Regions from separate parts of the Homo sapiens genome. Here regions 1, 3, 4, 5 and 6 are each linked to region 2. The links are contacts of gene promoters, found by promoter capture Hi-C in blood cells and fetal thymus (Javierre and others, 2016). All regions are on one chromosome and are shown on one strand. The core of a region is centred on a gene start or on the middle of the fragment in contact, and the rest is flanking DNA. Distances in the headings are between cores, read along the strand shown.

Region 1 (3,007 bases), core at 237-2,736, 640 kb after region 2:
CAAAGCTAAGTATGACTGTTTATTAAAGCTTTTGTTCCTTATCACCATAACATTCAGCCTCCTCTAAAGATTTTTCTTCTGAAAATAATGACCCCATATTAACAGGTAAATTTATTGTGTATTCACTAATATGCCACTGTGCATACAACTATATACACATGGCCTCCTATAATTCACCAAACATCCCTATGAGATGTGGATACTCTTATTTATTTATTTATTTATTTATTTATTTATTTATTTATTTATTTGAAACAGAGTCTTGCTCTGTCTCCAGGCTGGAGTGCAGTGGCACGATCTCGGCTCACTGCAATCTCCACCTCCTGGGTTGAAGTGATTCCCCTGCCTCAGCCTCCTGAGTAGCAGGGACTACAGGCACGCGCCACCACACCCTGCTAATTTTTTGTATTTTAGTAGAGACAGGGTTTCACCATGTTGGCCAGGATGTTCTCGATCTCCTGACCTCATGATCCGCCCTCCTCGGCCTCCCAAAGTGCTGGGATTACAAGCGTGAGCCACTGCGCCCGGCCACGATGTAGATACTCTTATACACATTTTAGGTGATGAGAAAACTGAGGCTTAAGGAAAATAGTACCTGGTTCAATATAGCGCAGCTATAAAGTAATGGAATCTGGATTCAAGGTCTTGATAATTATTAGTTCTTTCATTAAATTTTTTTTTAAATTTTATATAATAAAATTGGCTTTCCTGATGTACAGTTCTAAGAATTTTAATACGTGTGTAGATTCATGCAAGCATCACTACAATCAGTATACAAATCAGTACCATCGCTTTACCCATTTGTAATCACACCTTCCTCCCATGCTAACCCCTGGAACTCAGTGATCTGGTCTCTGTCACATAGTCTTTTTCTTTGTGAGAATGTGACATAAATGGAATTTTGTAGTATATAACCTTTTCGAACTGACTTCTTCCACTCAGTATAATGTCTTTGAACTCCATTCTTGCTGCTGCATGGAACGATAGTCTCTTCCTTTACATTGCTGAGTAATTTTCTGTAATACAGATGTATCACATTTATTTATCCATTCATCTGTTGAAAGAAATTTGAGCTGTCTCAGGTTTTGGAGATCATGAATAGAGTCGCTATACGCATTACATGTAAGATTTTGTGTAAAGGTAAGTGTTTGTTTTGTGGGGATAAATACCTAGGAGTCAGGTTGTTGGGTCACATGGTAAGCATTTGTTTAACCTTACAACTGCCAACCTTTTCTAGAATGGTTGTATCTTGACTTCTCACCAGCAAAATATTACAGCTCCAGTGCCTCCACATCCTTATCAGCACTTGGTATTGTCAGTTACTGTTTTCTTTTTTTCTTTTCAGCCTTTCTTTTCCTTTTTTCTTTCTTCCTTTTTTTTTTTTTTTTTTTTTTTTTGAGATGGAGTTTCACTCTTGTTGCCCAAGCTGGAGTGCAATGGTATGATCTCGGCTCATCGCAACCTCCACCTCCCGGGTTCAAGTGATTATCCTGCCTCAGCCTCTCAAGTAGCTGGGATTACAGGCATGTGCCACCATGCCAGGCTAATTTTGTATTTTTAGTAGAGAGAGGGCTTCACCATATTAGTCAGGCCGGTCTTGAACTCCTGACCTCAGGTGATCCGCCCACCTCCGCCTCCTAAAGTGCTGGGATTACAGGCATGAGCCACCGTGCCTGGCCTAATTTCAGCCTTTCTAAAAAGTGTTTAATAGTATCTCATGGTGGTTTAATTTGCATTTTTTCTATTTGAACTTCTTCATGTGCTCATTAAAGAGATGCTAAACATCCCTTTCTGTGCTTATTTGCCATCTATATCCTCTTTAGCAAAGTGTCTATTCAAGATATTTGCCCATTTAAAAAAGTGTGTTTTTCTTACCATTGAGTTTTAAGAATTCTTTATATATTCGGAGTCCTTCATCAGAAATATGATTCACAACTATTTTCATCATCCAGTTCATAGCTTGTATTTTCATTATCTTAATAATGTATTTTACAAAGCAAACTTCTTAAATTGTTATGAAGTCCAGTTTATCAACTTTTCGTTTTAACGGATCATGTTCTTGGTGTCCTGTTTGAGAACTCTCTGACAGGAGGGTCTGGGTCAGAGAGAAGGAGAAAGTGATGGGAAGACACTACGGTACTGGCTTTGGTGATGGAGAAAGGAGCCACGAGCCAAGGAATGCAGGCCTCCCCAGAAGCTGGAAAAGACAGAGAAACAGTTTCTCCCCTAGAATTTCCAGAAGGATCGCAGCCCTGCTGACATCTTGATTTTAGCTTAATGAAACCCATTTAAGACTTACCTTCAGAAGTGTAAGATAATAAATTTGTAATAAGTAAATATTTTTAAGTCACTTAAAAAAATAAATAAAACAAAAAGCCTGTCTGCCTAACTTCAGGTCAAAAACATTTTGGTCCTATCAATTCTTTGAAAGGTTTTATAGGGCTGAGCCTCGTGGCTCATGCCTGTAATCCCAACACTTGGGAGGCCGAGGCAGCAGATTACTTGAGCCCAGCAATTTGAGAGCAACCTGGGCAACATGGTGAAACCCTGGCTCTACAAAACATAAAAATAAAAAATTAGCCGGGCGTGATGAAACCCACCTGTAGTCCCAGCTACTCAGGAGGTTGAGGCAGAAGGATCCCTTGAGCCCAGGAGCCCCAGGCTGTAGTGAGCCGTGTACTTGCCACTGCACTCCAGCCTGGGCGACCCTGTCTCAAAAACAAAAAGAAAAATAAAATAATAATAATAAAAAAAAAAACTACCAAAAACGGCTTTATAGTTTCATGTTTTACATTTAGCTCTATGATTCATTTTGAATTATTTTTATATAAAGTTTGAAGTTTTGGTCAAAGTTCTTGGCTTTGCATATGGATGACCAATTGTTTCATCATCCTTTGTTGAATAGACAAATCCTCTCTTCCATTAATTGTCTTTGGAAGCTTGCCAGAAATCAATTGACCATATTTCTACAGATGTCTCTGTGCTCTTGATTCTGTTCCACTGGTCA
Region 2 (3,262 bases), core at 46-2,545:
GACAGGAGAATTGCTTGAACCTGGGAGGCGGAGGTTGCAGTGAGCCGAGATAGCGCTACTGCACTCCAGCCTGGACGACAGAGCAAGACTCCGTCTCAAAACAAAACAAAAACAAACTAACGAATGCATTCCATTCCTTATAAACACGATAAATTATCTATACCACTTAAAAAGGTCTGGAAAAAATTCAAAACAACTGCTTAGAAGTTAATTCAGGAAAACCACGTTTTTCCAATTTTGCTTGATGCATCTTACTTCCTATCAAATGCCTGCAACAATGAGCTAAGCTTGAAGGTATCTAATGATACTAGAACAAAATTTCCTATAAAATCCAATTTAATCTCATTACAATGCATATAGTAACGCACAGAAATGAAAAGATTTCTATGATTTTCTATTTAGAATTAAACCACCCCAGGGCAACAATGATTGAGATTAGAAAGGTGGTGCCACGTTCACGACCTTGCATCAAAAAGTAAGTCTCCCTCCCGAAACACAGAAAAAAGCTGCTATTGAAAGGGCATCTCGAATCACCGTCTCTGACACCGTGTGCGTCATTGCTCTAGTTCTGACTTCTATCAGCGGGCTAGGGAAAGAGACGGACGCCCCTTTCCCCGATAGAAGAGCCCAGGTACCTGAAGATGCAATGTACACATGGCGTGGAAATGGAAGAAAAAGAAGACACCGAGAGTTAGGAGAAATGTGGAGAGAGGTGACTCATGGACAGAGCCAAACCTGGCAGGGAGAGGACAGAAAAAAGGCAAAAGAGGCAACCAGAGACAGACAGAACACTGAAGACACAAGGGTGTAAAGGGCAGAGACAAAAGGACAATAGAGACGGGCCAAGATTGAGAGGCGTCCAGAATTTTCGGGTTGGGTAGGGCCAGAGAAAAGGGCCAGTATTGAAGCCGGCTCCGAACGTAAGCCCAGCCAGGGCTCCTGTCATTCTGGGTCCTCAAGAACATCTGGGAATTCTCCAACTGCCGTCGGCCTGGCCTGAGAGTCACCTGCACATTTTTGGAGATAGAGATAAGACAGCCCCACTCTCAAGAGGCCCCAGAATTAACGGGGCCAGATTAGAGCCTGCACTTACCAGGCCACAGCGGCCCGACGTAGTCGCCACATCCCGCCGGCGGGGAGGTCACGCAGGCGCCGAGACGGCCACGCGGGAGCCCCCGTGTGAGCCCCAGCCCGGCTCCCGGTCCAGGAATGACCCAGGAAGTGGCCCTCAGCAGCAAGGGCACAGAGCCGCGGCCGAGGCCCTCCCAATGGCGCATGGACTTCCGCAAGAGCCTGACAGGCACCCGTACTCAGTCCGTCACGGAAACAACCACTTCACCCTTTCTAGGCGGGCAGCACGAACGGTCCGCGGAGGACCAGCGCATGCGCACAGTGCGTCGGGAACGGACTGGAGCAATCCATCGCCTCTCACGGGGCCCCGCCCTCTTGCTTCCGATTTGGAATTCGGAATTAGCCTTGCAGGTTAGAGATTTGGCCAGGGGAGGGAGCGAGAGTTGGGCGGGAACGGGAAGGGCTAAAGGCGTGGAATGAGAATTGATGAATGCTCACCGGGAGCCATGAATTTATTAAGAGTTGGATATTGAGGGAGCACGAAGGAAACTAGAGAGTGCAAGGTGAAATACAGTAATAGCGTACTACAAACTAATGCTTGCACATTTGCCTACCTTCTTTCTTGGGCATCTTTGTTTGAAAGCACTTTCACATCGTTAGGGCAATCATGGGAGGTGAGAAGCAGGACGAAGAGTCATGGATAGGCTAAGTCCCTTAGAATCTCTGAGGATCAGATGGGAAAGGGACTTAAATCAGTTAGGCCAGTAACGGGTTTGGAATAAGCTTGTGTGGTTTATAAAAGGCGTCAAAATGATTTGTTCAACTGTTTCTTCCGGATTTTAAGCCCACCAGTTTGTTGAAATGGTCCTCGTCAAGGCCTCCACCAGCTCCCTATTGTTTGTGGCCAGTGAGCCTGCCACAGCATTCAGTTCAGATGCCTAGTGCTGAGCACTCCTTCAACTACTTTTTCTTTTGGCTCTCTGGCCATCACATTCTCCTTTTTCCCTGGAACTGCTGCTCCCAGGCTTCTTTGATGGCTCCCCTCCCAAATTTCTCAATGTTGGACAGGCCCAGATCTCAGCCATCTTGAGCTCCTCTCCTCCATCACTTTAAATACTCCTTTCCCCTTCCAACACAAACCTTTTATGTTTTGTAAGGAAACCAGGGCCCGTAAAAGGGATGTGGCCTGTGAACGGTTATGAAGCCAATTTTTAGGGACTAAAATAAAAGGGTCCTGTGCATCCTCTTTACTTCAGGGACCTTTCACCTCCTCCCCACTACCCGCCCCCCACCCATGCCACACACATACACAAATACACAGAGCATAAAGACAATTCCTTTTCCCTTAATTGTCAGAATCATAAGTCTGGACCCATGCACTCACAATACCACCAAGAGTAGACCTAGCCATTGATAGTAAACTTCCCAAATGCAGGACTCTTAGAATTTTCTTTATTTATTGTGGTGACTGTTTCAATGGCAGGTCCAGAGAGCAATTTGCTGTACCAACCTGTGCAAACTGTAGATCTTCCTGGGATTGTAGGGTTGTACAAAAAGTGTCTTTGTAATCGTTACTTCCTTGTTATTTTAGAAAATAAAATAAGAGAAACCAAGAGACTTTAACAACAACAACAAAAAAGAAAAATTAGGGATAAAAGACTTTAACCATAAAAAAAGGAGAAACTAACCACCATCACCATTTATATATGGTTATCATATGTTTTATGAAGCCCTTGTTTTGCAGTTCTACTTCTAGGCATTTATCCTGTGGAATCATTCCCATGTATGCAAAGATGTATGCATGATGATGTTTATTTCTGCACTGTATGAAATGGGAAAAGATTGGAATCAGTATAAATGTCCATGTATAGGAACTAGACACATAAATTACATCCGTACTAGCCATGAAAACCTATGCTTTAGGTCTGTATGTCCTGATAAGGAATGATCTCCCATAGATACATAGTGTTGCCATGAAAAAAGGGCAAACTGTTGTATAATAAACTGCAACCATTGGACCAAATTCAGCCCACAGACCTGTTTTGTTTGGTTTAGACAGTGTTGGCCTATGCAGTGTTTTAAAAATAACACTACATTTGGGCTGGGCATGGCGGCTTATGCCTGTAATCCCAGCACTTTGGGAGGCCGAGGAAGGCAGATCACGAGGTCAGGAGTTTGAGACCAGCCTGGC
Region 3 (2,974 bases), core at 243-2,742, 550 kb before region 2:
GGCTGGAGTTTTTTGTAAACTAATTATACATTTCATGTCTCACATTGATGACAAAACTCATAAAGTTAGTTGAACATGAAAACTATCACATTTGTGAAAAACAAAATAAGAAACAAATAGTGTTCCTTAAATAACATGGCTATCATTAAGTTATACTTGGACTTCTAAGAAAAAAATGTATTGATCTCTGCTTGACTAAAGACAAATTAGGATTGGGAACATATCTGAACATAGAAAGAATAGCTGCAGTAAAGGCTTCTTATTAATTTAGATTGCAATTATTTACTTGGGCTGCACTCTGGCCCCTCTGATTATTTTAAGGAAGATTTATAGTACAAATAATATTGCCAGAGCCACATTTAACCTGCTTAATAAGAGAACACATTCTTTAAATGACTTTAATGCATTAGTTTTATGAAAGCTATGAATTCAGACTCACTACAAGTATTTGCAAAGTTACTACTTTTCCTAACAGATATTTAAAACTCAGATTTTCCACTAATTCAGATTGACATTCTTCTTTAGCCAGACTAGTCCAGTTAGCCTATTTAATTCAGTAAATGTACTAGTGGAAAAACTCTAGCTAGTTGGGGAAATATATATATTTTTTTTCTTTATTTTTTCCCCCATAGAGATGTCGGTCTCACTATGTTGCCCAGACTGGTCTTGAACCCCTGGTGCAAGCAATCTTCTGTCTTTGCCTCTGAAAGTGCTGGGATTACAGGTGTGAGCCACTGCACCTGGCCCAGTTGGGGAAGTATATTTCTTAAATAGAGAGAGTCCCGAGAACCAACAGATCACATTCTCTTTTCAGAAAAGAAGTGAGCAAGTGAAAAGGATTGGGGGAAATTTTTTTAGGATGAAGAGAGAAAGTGGTATTTTTAACTCTTGCTGCTCGATATCATAGCAAAGGATAAGGTCTTGGTAGCACATATGTGAGCAAATCCTGGCAGATGCAGTCTGCCTTCGATGTACTTTGCAGTAGCTATGATTCTCACTAACATGGCAGCTCTCCAGGAAACTGATACGTAGGCTATTTTCTGGTGAACTACGATGCCTGTCCTTCAGGTCTCAGTCCCCATATCTTTAACTGCAGATGAAAATACTTGTCTGTCGCCGGGCGCGGTGGCTCACGCCTGTAATCCCAGCACTTTGGGAGGCCAATGTGGGTGGATCATGAGGTCAGGAGATTGAGACCATCCTGGCTAACACGGTGAAACCCTGTCATTACTAAAAATACAAAAAAAAAAAAAAATTAGCCGGGTGCCTGTAGTCCCAGCTCCTCAGGAGGCTGAGGCAGGAGAATGGTGTGAACCCGGAAGGCAGAGCTTGCAGTGAGCCAAGATAGTGCCACTGCACTCCAGCCTGGGCGACAGAGTGAGACTCCGTCTCAAAAAAAAACAAAAAAACAAAAAACTTGTCTGTAACAATCCTGCCAGGGCCTTGGCTGTAAGGTCTGAAATACGCCTGATATACATTGCTAGAGCCACAGAGCATGTGTCAAACTGTAAAGGCACACAGAAGCACACTGAGGACAGGGAATCACAGACTGGAGTTGAAAGCACTTCAGAGGCTTCCTGGCCTAACGTTCTCATTGTGCTGGCACAGAGATCGAAGCCCAGAGACGTAAGGGGACTTGGCCAGCATCTCACAGGTAGCAGTCCAACTGGATCAGGCCTCAGATTTCCTGACTCGCAGTCCAGTTTCTTGACCACATCTAGGTAATTATGCTCATGCAGAAGATGTTAGTATTGTAAAATAATTACCCTTGAAATTAACCATTTGAGAATCACCTTTCTTAGGTGGAATTTGACTAATTATTTACTATGCCAGTAATTTCTATGAATGATCACAAGGATTAATCATATTTGGAGAACCAAAAAAGTTACCTGTTGTGACGTGCAATCTTTTTTTGTACCATCACTGTGCATGACTCTTTCCTTATGGCACTTAACACAGCAATTTGTTGTTGTTCTTGGTTTTTTTTTTTTTTTTTTTTTTTTTTTGAGATGGAGTCTCGCTCTGTCACCCAGGCTGGAGTGCAGTGGCACAATCTTGGCTCACTGCAAGCTCCGCCTCCCAGGTTCACGCCATTCTCCTGCCTTAGCCTCCCCAGCAGCTGGGACTGCAGGCGCATGCCGCCAAGCCCGGCTAATTTTTGTATTTTTAGTAGAAACGGGGTTTCACCATGTTAGCCAAGATGGTCTCGATCTCCTGACCTTGTGATCCACCCGCCTTGGCCTCCCAAAGTGCTGGGATTACAGGCGTGAGCCACCGCGCCCAGCAGTGCTGTTCTTGTGTGGAAGCTGTCTTGTCTACCAGATAGCTTTATAGTTACAGAGACCATGCCTTTCTTCTCCCTTTATTCCCATAGTGCCTGGTTCAATAATTATCAAATGAATGCATGAAATTCAGAAACTAAGGAAGAAGCAGTGGTCCTTTCACCTAGGGCCTGGTGCAATTACAAGCAGATCCTGCCATCGCTGGGCAAAGGCCGGGACTGGCTTTCTTGTCTGGTGAACGTCCCTCACTGTGGTTAAGAATCCGAAGAGCTGACAGCACTATTCTAAATGCTTTAAGTGCATGTACTCATTTCATCTTCTCAACCCTGTGAAGCACTACCCTGACGAGCCCTAAGTTACAAATGAGATACAGAGTTACAAAATTGAGGCAGGGAGTTCAGTAATTTCCCTCGGGCTCAAAACCTAAGCCAAGCCGCCAGGAGCCAGACCACGTGCTTCTAACCCCTGGGCTGTATTGCATTTAAGCCAACCACTGCGGCAGGGCTTATCCCTCTTTTTCTTTTTTTGACCTCTAAGCCAATTTGTATATTTGAAAACTTAGATACCACACCATGGTAAACATACTGACATCTCCCCAGACTGGACGTATATATGTTCATCTCCGCGTTTTCCCTCACCCTTCTGCTTCTAACCCTTCCTGTTGAACTCATCTTTCACCTCTCGGCTTCAAG
Region 4 (2,956 bases), core at 57-2,556, 620 kb after region 2:
CCCTCCTCCTTCAATTTTCAGCACAGGTTGAGTAAGATATTCTGTAAATGTTTGGGCGAATTCAGCAGTGAAGCCATCAGGTTCTGGGCTTTTCCTTGCTGGGAGACTTTATTATGGCTTCAATCTCATGACTTCTTATTGGTCTATTCAGGTTTTGGATTTATTCATGGTTCAATCTTGGTAGACTGTATGTGTGTAGAAATGTATCCATTTCTTTTAGGTTTTCCAATTTATTGGCATATAGTTGCTCATAGTATCCTGTAATAATCCTTTGGATTTCTGTAGTAGCAGTTGTAATGTCTCTTTTTTCATCTCTGATTTTATTCACTTGGGTTTTTTCTTTCTTTTTTTTTTTTCTTAGTTAGTCTGGCTAAGGATTTGTCCATTTTATCTTTTTGAAAACTTGACTTTTTATTTTGTTTATCTTTGGTATTTTTTTAATTTCAATTTTATTTATATTTGGGCTGATTTTTATTATTTCTTTTCTTCTGCTAATTTTGGGTTGGGTTTGCTCTTGCTTTTTTACTTCCTTAAGATGCATCATGGGGTTATTGTTTGAAATTTATCTTTTCTTTTCTTTCTTTCTTTTTTTTTTTTTGGAGACAGAGTCTCACTCTGTCTCCCAGGCTGGAGTGCAGTGGTGCAATCTCGGCTCACTGCAACTTCTGCCTCCCAGATCCAAGTGATACTCCTGCCTCAGCCTCCTGAGTAAGTGGGACTACAGGCACCCACCACCACGCCTGACTAATTTTTTGTATTTTTAGTAGAGACAGGTTTTCACCGTGTTAGCCAGGATGGTCTCGATCTCCTGACCTCATGATCCGCCCACCTCGGCCTTTCAAAGTGCTGGGATTACAGGCATGAGCCACTGCAACTGGCCCTATTTGAAATTTTTGTACTTTCTTGTTGTAGGTACTTATTGCTATAAACTTTCCTCTTATTGCTGCTTTTGCAGTACCCCATAGGTTTTGGGATGTTCTGAGTCCATTTTCCTTCATTCCAAGAAAATTTTAAATTTCCTTCTTAATTTCTTCATTGACCCACTGGGCATTCAGAAGCATATTGTTTAATTTCCAGGTGTTTGTATAGCTTCGAAAATTCCTCTTTGTATGGATTTTTAGTTTTATTCCATTGTGGTCAGAGAAGATATTTTATATAATTTAAATTTTTGAATATTTTACAACTTGTTTTGTGGCCTAACAGATGGTCCATCCTTGAGAATGATCCATGTACTGAGGAGAAGTTTGTGTATTCTGTAGCCATTGAATAAAAAGTTCCATAAATATCTATTAGGTTCATTTGGTCTTATAGTGCAGATTAAGTCCCATGTTTCTCTGTTGATTTTCTGTCTGGATGCTCTGTCCAACGCTGAAAGTGGGAGGTTGAAGTCTCCAGCTAGAATTGTATTGGAATCTCTCCCTAGGTCTGATAATATTTAGTTTATATATTTGGGTGCTCCAGTGTTGGGTGCATGTATATTTATAATTGTTTTATCTTCTTACTGAATTGACCCCTTTATCACTATATAATTACCTTGTCTCTTTTTACAGCTTTTGTCTTGAAATCTATTTTGTCTGATATAAATATAGCTACTTCTGCTCTTCTTTGGTTTCCATTTGCAGGGAATATCTTTTTCCATCCCTTTATGTTGAGTCTGCATGTGTCTTTATAGGTGAAATATGTTTATTGTAGGCAACAGATTGTTGGGTTTTGTTTTTTATCCATTCAGCCACTCCTGGGTTTTGATTGGAGAGTTTAATCTATTTACTTTCAATGTCATTATTTATGAGTGAGGACTTAATCCTGCCATTTTGTTATTTGATTTCTTGTTGTTTTGTGGCCTTCCTTCCTTCATTCTTTCCTTCCTTTTTGGGAAGGTAATATTTTCTGATAATATAGTACATTTTAATTTCTTTTATTTTTTGTGTATCTGTTGTAGGTTTTTTTATTTGAGGTTCTCATGAGGCTTGCAAATAACATCTTATAACTCATGGTTTTAAACTGATTTCAACTTGGCCAGGTGTGGTGGCTGATGCCTTTAATCCCAGCGCTTTGGGAGGCTGAGGTCAGAGAATCAGTTGAGGTCAAGACCAGACTGGCCAACATGGTGAAACTTTTTTGTTGTAGGTACTTATTGCTATAAACTTCCCTCTTATTAGCTGGGTGTGGTGGTGCACACCTGTAATCCCAGCTACTTGGGAGGCTGAGGAAGGAGAATTGCTTGAACCCAAGAGGCAAAGGCTGAGGTGAGCTGAGATCGCACCACTGCACTCCAGCCTGGGCAACAGAGCATGACTCCATCTCAAAAAATAAATAAATAAATAAATAAATAAATAAATAAAATAAGTAAACTGATGGCAACTTAGCACTGATTGAAAAAAAAATAACAAGCAAGCCAAGAGAAAACTAATAAAAACTCTACACTTTTTAACTTCATCCTCCTACTTTTTAACTTTTTGTGTTTTCTATTTATATCTTACTATGCTGTCTATGTCTTGAAAACTTGTTGTAGTTATTATTTTTGATAGGTTTATCTTTTAGTGTTTCTACTCAAGGTATGAGTAGTTTATATACCACAATCACAGTGTTATAATATTTACATATTTACATATTTACATACTTACACAATTATATATTATAATATGTAACTGTGTTTTTCTGTATACTTACTATTGCCAGAGAGTTTTGTACCTTCAAAGGATTTCTTATTGCTCATTAATGTCCTTTCCTTTCACATTAAAGAACTCCCTTTAGCATTTATTGGAGGGCAAGTCTGGTGTTAATGAAATCCCTCAGCTTTTGTTTGTCTGGGAAAGTCTTTATTTCTCCTTCATGTTTGAAGGATATTTTCAATTGTTACACTAGTCTAAGATACAAGTTTTTTCCTTCAACACTTCAAATATGTCATGCCACTCTCTCCTGGCCTATAAGATTTCCATTGAGAAGTCTGCTGCCA
Region 5 (3,161 bases), core at 444-2,943, 600 kb after region 2:
TGGGAGATTAATCGGACACGATCAGCAGGGAGAGCACGTGTGTTTTTATGAGAATTATGCCAAGATAGGTAACAGATGAGGATGAAATTTGGGCTTGACTGAAGTAATGGGGGCTGTCTGTGAAGCCTTGCGGCAGTACAGCCCAGGTGATTTGCTGAGCCTGATGGGTGTCAGGGTCAGTCTAACTGAAAACAAAGAGAGGCTGGGATGAACGGTGCAAAGGAATAGTAAAGAAAGCATGTTTGAGATCCAGAACAGAATAATGGGTTGTAGAGGAAGGTATTGATGACAGGAGAGTATATGGGTTTGGCACTATGGGGTGGCTAGGCAAAACAATTTGGTTGATAAGGCGCAGATTCTGAACTAACCTGTAAGCCTTGTCTGGTTTTAGGACAGGTAAAATGGGGGAATGGTAAGAAGAGTTTATAGGCTTTAAAAGGCCATGCTGTAACAGGCGAGTGATAACAGGATTTAATCCTTTCAAAGCATGCTGTGGGATGGGATATTGGCATTGATCAGGGTAAGAGTGATTAGGTTTTAATGGGATGGTAAGGGGTGCATGATCAGTCCCTAAGGAGGGAGTAGATGTATCTTATACTTGTGGGTTAAGGTGGGGAGATACAAGGGGAAGATGTGAAGGAGGCTTTGAACTGGGGGAAAAGGCAGCAATGAGGTGTGGCTGTAGCCTAGGAATAGTCAGGGAAGCAGATAATTTAGTTAAAGTGTCTCGGCCTAATAAGGGAACTGGGCAGGTGGGGATAACTAAAAGGAGTGCCTAAAAGAGTATTGTCTAAGTTGGCACCAGAGTTGGGGAGTTTTAAGAGGTTTAGAAGCCTGGCTGTCAATACGCACAACAGTTATGGAAGCAAGGGAAACAGGCCTCTGAAAAGAAGGTAATGTGGGGTGGGTAGCCTCTGTATTGATTAAGAAGGGGATGGACTTACTTTCCACTGTGAGAGTTACTCAAAGCTCGGTGTCCATGATGGTCTAGGGGGCTTCCAAGGCAATCAGGCAGTGTCAGTCTTCAGCCGCTAAGCTGAGAAGATCTGAGAAGGAGTCAGTCAGAGAGCCTTGGGCCAGAGTTCCAGGGAAGCTGGGAGTGGCTGCCAGGTGAGTTGAAGAGTCTGATTTTCAGTGAGGTCCCACACAGACGGAATACGGCTTAGGAGGAATCCTGGGCTGTGGGCATTCCTTGGCCCAGTGGCCAGATTTCCGGCACTTGTAGCAAGCTCCTGGGGGAGGAGGTTCTGAAGGAACCCCTGGCAGCTGTGGTTCAGGTGTTTGGAGTTCTTGTGTGCTGGAGATGTGGCTGGGGTTTGTCTCACAGTGCAGACAAGTAATTGCAATTCATAAATACATTGCTACTTGGCTGCCTTTACTCTATTATTGTACACCTTGAAGGCGAGGTTAATTAAGTCCTGTTGTGGGGTTTGAGGGCCGGAATTTAATTTTTGGAGTTTTATTTAATGTCAGGAGCAGATTGGGTAATAAAGTGTATATTGAGAATAAGACAGCCTTTTGACCTTTTAGGATCTAGGGCTGTAAAGCATCTCAGGGCTGCTGCCGAGCCATGAACTGGGCTGGGTTTTTCATATTTGATGAAAGAGCCTAAATGCTCACTGATTTGGGAGAGGTCTGATAAAGAAAAAGGAGCATTAACCTTGACTATGCCTTTAGCTTCAGCCACCTTTTTAAGAGGAAATTGCTGGGCAGGTGGGGGAGGGCTACTCACAGAATGAAACTGTAAACTGGACCAGGTGTGAGGAGGGGAGGTGATAAAAAGATTATAGGATGGAGGAGCAGAGGCTGAGGAAGAATTGGGACCTAGCTCGGCCTGGTGAGGACCAGCCTGGGGAGGAGGGGAGAGGTCAGATGGGTCTGTAGCAAAGGAATATTAGAAAGACTCAGCAATGCCTGGGGTTGGGACTGAGGGGACAGGTGGGAGGGAAAGAAGGAAGATTTGGGACAAGTTGCACTGGACACAGAGACTAGGGAGGGACTGATGTGTAAAAGAATGCCTGGACATCAGGCACCTCAGACCGTTTGCCCATTTTACAACAAGAATTACTTAGATCTTGCAGGATGGAAAGATTCAAAGTGCCATTTTCTGGCTATTTGGAACCACTGTTGAGTTTGTATTGGGGTCAAGCAGCATTGCAGAAGAAAATAAGGCATTTAGGTTTTAGGTCTGGTGTGAGTTGAACAGGTTTTAAGTTCTTGAGAGCACAGGCTAAGGGAGACAGAGGAATGGAGGGTGGAAGTTTGCCTATAGTGAAGGAGGCAAGCCCAGAGAAAAGAGAGAGTAGAGACACAGAGGGAAGGGGTTCGGGGCTTCTTACTCTCCAGAAAAGCAGGAAAGGGGTCAGGGCATGGAAATAAGGGGTTGAGCCACAGAGATAAGAGGTCAGGGCACGGAAATAAGGGATCGGAGCGCAGAGATAAGAGGTCGGGGCACGGAAATAAGGGATGGGGCACAGAGATAAGAGGTCAGGGCACGGAAATAAGGGATTGGGGATTCTTGCCCCCTAGAAAAGCAGGACTTGCCGCTAAGGGTGAAGGAGAAGGGGTTGAGGGGTTCTTGCCCCTCCCCAAGAAAAGCGGAGAAGGGATAGAGACACGGAGAGAAGGGGTTGGGGTACTTGCCCCTCCCCCAGAAAAGCAGGACTTGCCGCTAAGGGTGAAGGACCAAGGCAGGCATCCCTGCATGGTCTGACACCTCTGAAATGTGGGTGAATAATCAGAGAGGCGTCCCTGCAATGATTAAACACCAAAGGAAGGCTGCCTTCCCAGTCCATGACTGGCGCTGGAGTTTTGGGTCCACGGATAAAACGTGTCTCCTTTGTCTCTACCAGAAAATGAAAGGAATTGAAATTAAGAGAAGGGAGAGATTGAAGTGTGGCGCCAAGATTGAAAGGAGAAAGAGGTTGAGGGATAGTGAGGGAGGTTGGAGAACAGAGTAAAAAGAGGCTGCTTACCGGATTTGAAATTGGTGAGATGTTTCTTGGTCTGGTCAGTCTGACGACCTGAGGTCGTAGGTGGATCTTTCTCACGGAGCAAAGAACAGGAGGACAGAGGATTGATCTCCCAAGGCAGGTCCCCTGATCCGAGTCACGGCACCGAATTTCATGCATGTCCGTGTGAAGAGACCACCAAACAGGCTT
Region 6 (3,088 bases), core at 575-3,074, 550 kb after region 2:
AAGGCCTGAGAGCCTCTGGAAAATCACTGGTGTTAAGTCCAAGAGTCCAAAAGCTGAAGAACCTGGAGTCTGATGTTCAAGGAAGGAAGCATCCAGCATGGGAGAAAGATGAAGGCTGGAAGACTCAGCAAGTCTAGTCCTTCCAAATTTTCTGCCTGCTTTATTCTAGCCACACTGGCAGCTGATTAGATGGTGCCCACCCAGATTGAGGGTGGGTCTGCCTCTCCCAGTCCACTGATTCAAATGTGTCAACACCCGCACAGATACACCCAGGAACAATATTTTGCATCCTTCAGTCCAATCAAGTTGACATTCAATATTAACCATCACACCAATCATCCCAAGCAGACTTTGGGTTAGAGGCAATTAGCCCATGTACAGGACTTTAGGCTGATGGTGTTCTCTCTCTCTCTCTTTCTCTCTCTCACTCTCTCTGTGTGTGTGTGTGTGTCTGTGTGTGTGTGTGTGTGTGTAAGAACCTGGACAGCCAGGTGCAGTGGCTCACGCCTGTAATCCCAGCGCTTTGGGAGGCCGAGGCAGGTGGATCACTTGAGGTCAAGAGTTTGAGACCAGCCTGGCCAACATGGTGAAACCCTGTCTCTACTAAAAATACAAAAATTAGCTGGGCATGGTGGTGGACGCCTGTAATCCCAACTACTCAGGAGGCTGAGGCAGGAGAATCACTTGAACCTGGGAGGTGGAGGTTGCGGTGAGCCAAGATTGTGCCACTGCACTCCAGCCTGGGCAACAAAGTGAGACTCTGTCACACACACACCCACACAAAAAGAACCTAGACAATATTCCATAATGCAATGCAATGCCTCGTGTACACAGTCCATGTGGGCTTTCTGATATTTATCTGTCCTTTTGAAGATTTTTTAATTAAAAAAACTCTATAGAATTTATTCAAGCAGCATTATCTTAGGACAACTACTTACTACATTTTCTAACAGTTGTTATTTCCCCTTTGTTAAAGAGTCAGCTGTAAAATAATGCTTTCTTTGCAGAAAGCTTGTGCCGCTGGACAGATTAGATAACTCGGGGGATTTGCAGCAGGCAGTGGAGACTTTAACCCGCAGGTCACCCCTTTCATCTCTCACCCAGATTAGGCCTGACAGCTGTTCACGATCCTCCTTGGAAGGGAATGCCCAGCCGCTTGCCTCAAGACAATTGGCATCAAACTATGGAACCCTTTTGAAAGTCTTGAAATATATTTTGTCATTCCTTTTAGTCCAGGTGTCTGTCATTTCACAAATCACAAGAGTACCACAAAAACCTGGATGAAGTTTAGTTAGCACAGAGCAAAGAGGCTCTGACCGCTGAAATAGATATTGATGACTGGCCCCAAAGCTCCATCCACAAACCACAGGCAAAAAACAGTTTCACCACATATAATCCAGGGTCTGTGATAGGTGCTGAACAGATGTTGCTTCTTGAAGAACAGTCTCTCTGGCTACTTTTCTAGAGAGTTCTTTATTCTACCCCATCTTCGCTTCCCCAGAGTGAGGTCCAAAGCAGTTGCAACATATCTTGCAGGTAGAAGCTGGTTGAGTTCAACTCACTCACAACTAGAAAACTGAATTCGTCTCAGAAAACATCCATTTATATTGTGATTGTTGGGATGGTTGGTTTTATTACAGGAAGGGAGAGTGGAAAATAATATATTATAAATGGGATTTTTAATATTATTGATCTATAGCAATAATCCCCAACTTCTTCAACAAAAGAACACCTCATATATGCAGAACCATGCCACATCCCACAACACACACATACATAACTGTGGCCATATTTTTTACATGCCTGGAATGAAAAAATATTTATACTTCAAGATCTCTGGAACTCTTGTAATAATTTCTTGTCTCCCTAATTCTCCTTTCACTCCTCCAGATGAGGAGCCTCTGCCTAGAGGAGTGGTCCATGCATGCATTCTCACAGGTAGGAATACCTATTGAAATACCCAGTAGAGTCTCGTAAAGGAGTCTCCATGCTTCATCTTCATAGATGGACAACAATAAGAACGTGCTGTGGAGTAAAAAACTCAGTGACAATTTTCATCCCAGGTTGCTACTTATTCATTTTTTTTGTATGAAACTTACATTTCTTTTTTTAACTTTTAAGTTCAGGAGTACATGTGCAGGTTTGTTATTTATGTAAACTTATGTCACAGGGATTTGTTGTACAGATTATTTTGTCACCCAGGTGTTAAGCCTAATACTCATTAGTTATTTTTCCTGATCCTCTCCTTCCTCCTACCCTCCACCCTCAGGTAGGCCCCTGTGCCTGCTGTTCCTCTCTATGTGTCCATGTGTTCTCATCATTTAGCTCCTGCTTATAAGTGAGAATGTGAAATATTTAATTTTCTGTTCCTGCATTAGTTTGCTAAGGATAATGGCCTCCGTTGTATGGCTGCATAGTATTCCATGGTGTATACGTACTGCATTTTCTTTATCCAGTCTACCACTCATGGACATTTAGGTTGATTCCATGTGTTTGCTGTAGTGAATAGTGCTGCAAGAACATACATGTGCATGTGTCTTTATGATGGCATGACCTACATTCCTTTGGGTATATACCCAGTCACTGTATATTTATATATATTTTTATCCCAAATCTTTCAATTTAAGACTAAGCTTAAATGATCTCCAAGTCACTATATATTTATATATATTTTATCCCAAATATTTCAATTTAAGACTAAGCTTAAACGATCTCCATGAAACATATTACTGCTGTTATTGTTATTATTTCTTCTACTTTCATATGTGTCATTAATAAATTGTTGGGAATAAAGAGCATTGTTAGATTTTTCTTTGTTTATTAAAGGAAGATATTTTAATATTTATTGTTTTATTTATTTTTGAGACAGGGTCTCACTCTGTTGCCCAGGCTGGAGTGCAGTGGTAAGATCATGGCTTACTGCAGCCTCAACCACCCAGGCTCAAGTGATCCTCCCACTTTAGCCTCCTAAGTAACTGGGACTACAGGTTTACACCACCATGCCTGGCTAATTTTTTTTATTTTTTGTACAGACAGCGTTTTGCCATGTTACCCAGGTTGGTCTCAAACTTCTGCACTCAAGTGATTA

The links. Contacts are between HindIII fragments. The CHiCAGO score rates a contact against its expected background, and 5 or more counts as called.
Region 1: a fragment that was not itself captured here is called in contact with the fragment with the promoter of OPA1 in region 2 in 4 of 17 cell types (M0 macrophages, M1 macrophages, M2 macrophages and 1 more); the score reaches 10.6 in M0 macrophages.
Region 3: a contact is called between a fragment that was not itself captured here and the fragment with the promoter of OPA1 in region 2, in 3 of 17 cell types (fetal thymus, erythroblasts and non-activated CD4 T cells). The highest score is 9.1, in fetal thymus.
Region 4: a fragment that was not itself captured here is called in contact with the fragment with the promoter of OPA1 in region 2 in 1 of 17 cell types (M0 macrophages); the score reaches 5.1 in M0 macrophages.
Region 5: a fragment that was not itself captured here is called in contact with the fragment with the promoter of OPA1 in region 2 in 2 of 17 cell types (M0 macrophages and M1 macrophages); the score reaches 6.0 in M0 macrophages.
Region 6: a contact is called between a fragment that was not itself captured here and the fragment with the promoter of OPA1 in region 2, in 4 of 17 cell types (M1 macrophages, M0 macrophages, endothelial precursors and 1 more). The highest score is 7.2, in M1 macrophages.

The regions. Positions count from the first base shown.
Region 1 is chr3:192,947,522-192,950,528 of GRCh38, reverse strand. No RefSeq gene overlaps it. Among named protein-coding and RNA genes, the nearest start is that of MB21D2, 31 kb to the right of the region's middle. The HindIII fragment of the contact is 2,911 bases long and covers 31-2,941 here.
Region 2 is chr3:193,591,241-193,594,502 of GRCh38, reverse strand. OPA1 (OPA1 mitochondrial dynamin like GTPase) reads right to left here and starts at 1,295. Exons shown (of 31, transcript NM_130837.3): 1 at 1,094-1,295. The coding sequence starts at 1,125. It also overlaps a transcript of ATP13A4 not described here. RefSeq lists enhancers at 737-816, 330-981, 1,417-1,466, 1,517-1,586, 982-1,633 and a silencer at 1,047-1,196. The HindIII fragment of the contact is 1,567 bases long and covers 290-1,856 here.
Region 3 is chr3:194,142,224-194,145,197 of GRCh38, reverse strand. No RefSeq gene overlaps it. Among named protein-coding and RNA genes, the nearest start is that of HES1, 7.6 kb to the right of the region's middle. The HindIII fragment of the contact is 7,774 bases long and covers 1-2,974 here.
Region 4 is chr3:192,973,903-192,976,858 of GRCh38, reverse strand. No RefSeq gene overlaps it. Among named protein-coding and RNA genes, the nearest start is that of MB21D2, 58 kb to the right of the region's middle. The HindIII fragment of the contact is 9,771 bases long and covers 1-2,956 here.
Region 5 is chr3:192,996,019-192,999,179 of GRCh38, reverse strand. No RefSeq gene overlaps it. Among named protein-coding and RNA genes, the nearest start is that of MB21D2, 80 kb to the right of the region's middle. The HindIII fragment of the contact is 7,691 bases long and covers 1-3,161 here.
Region 6 is chr3:193,044,568-193,047,655 of GRCh38, reverse strand. No RefSeq gene overlaps it. Among named protein-coding and RNA genes, the nearest start is that of MB21D2, 130 kb to the right of the region's middle. The HindIII fragment of the contact is 1,622 bases long and covers 1,014-2,635 here.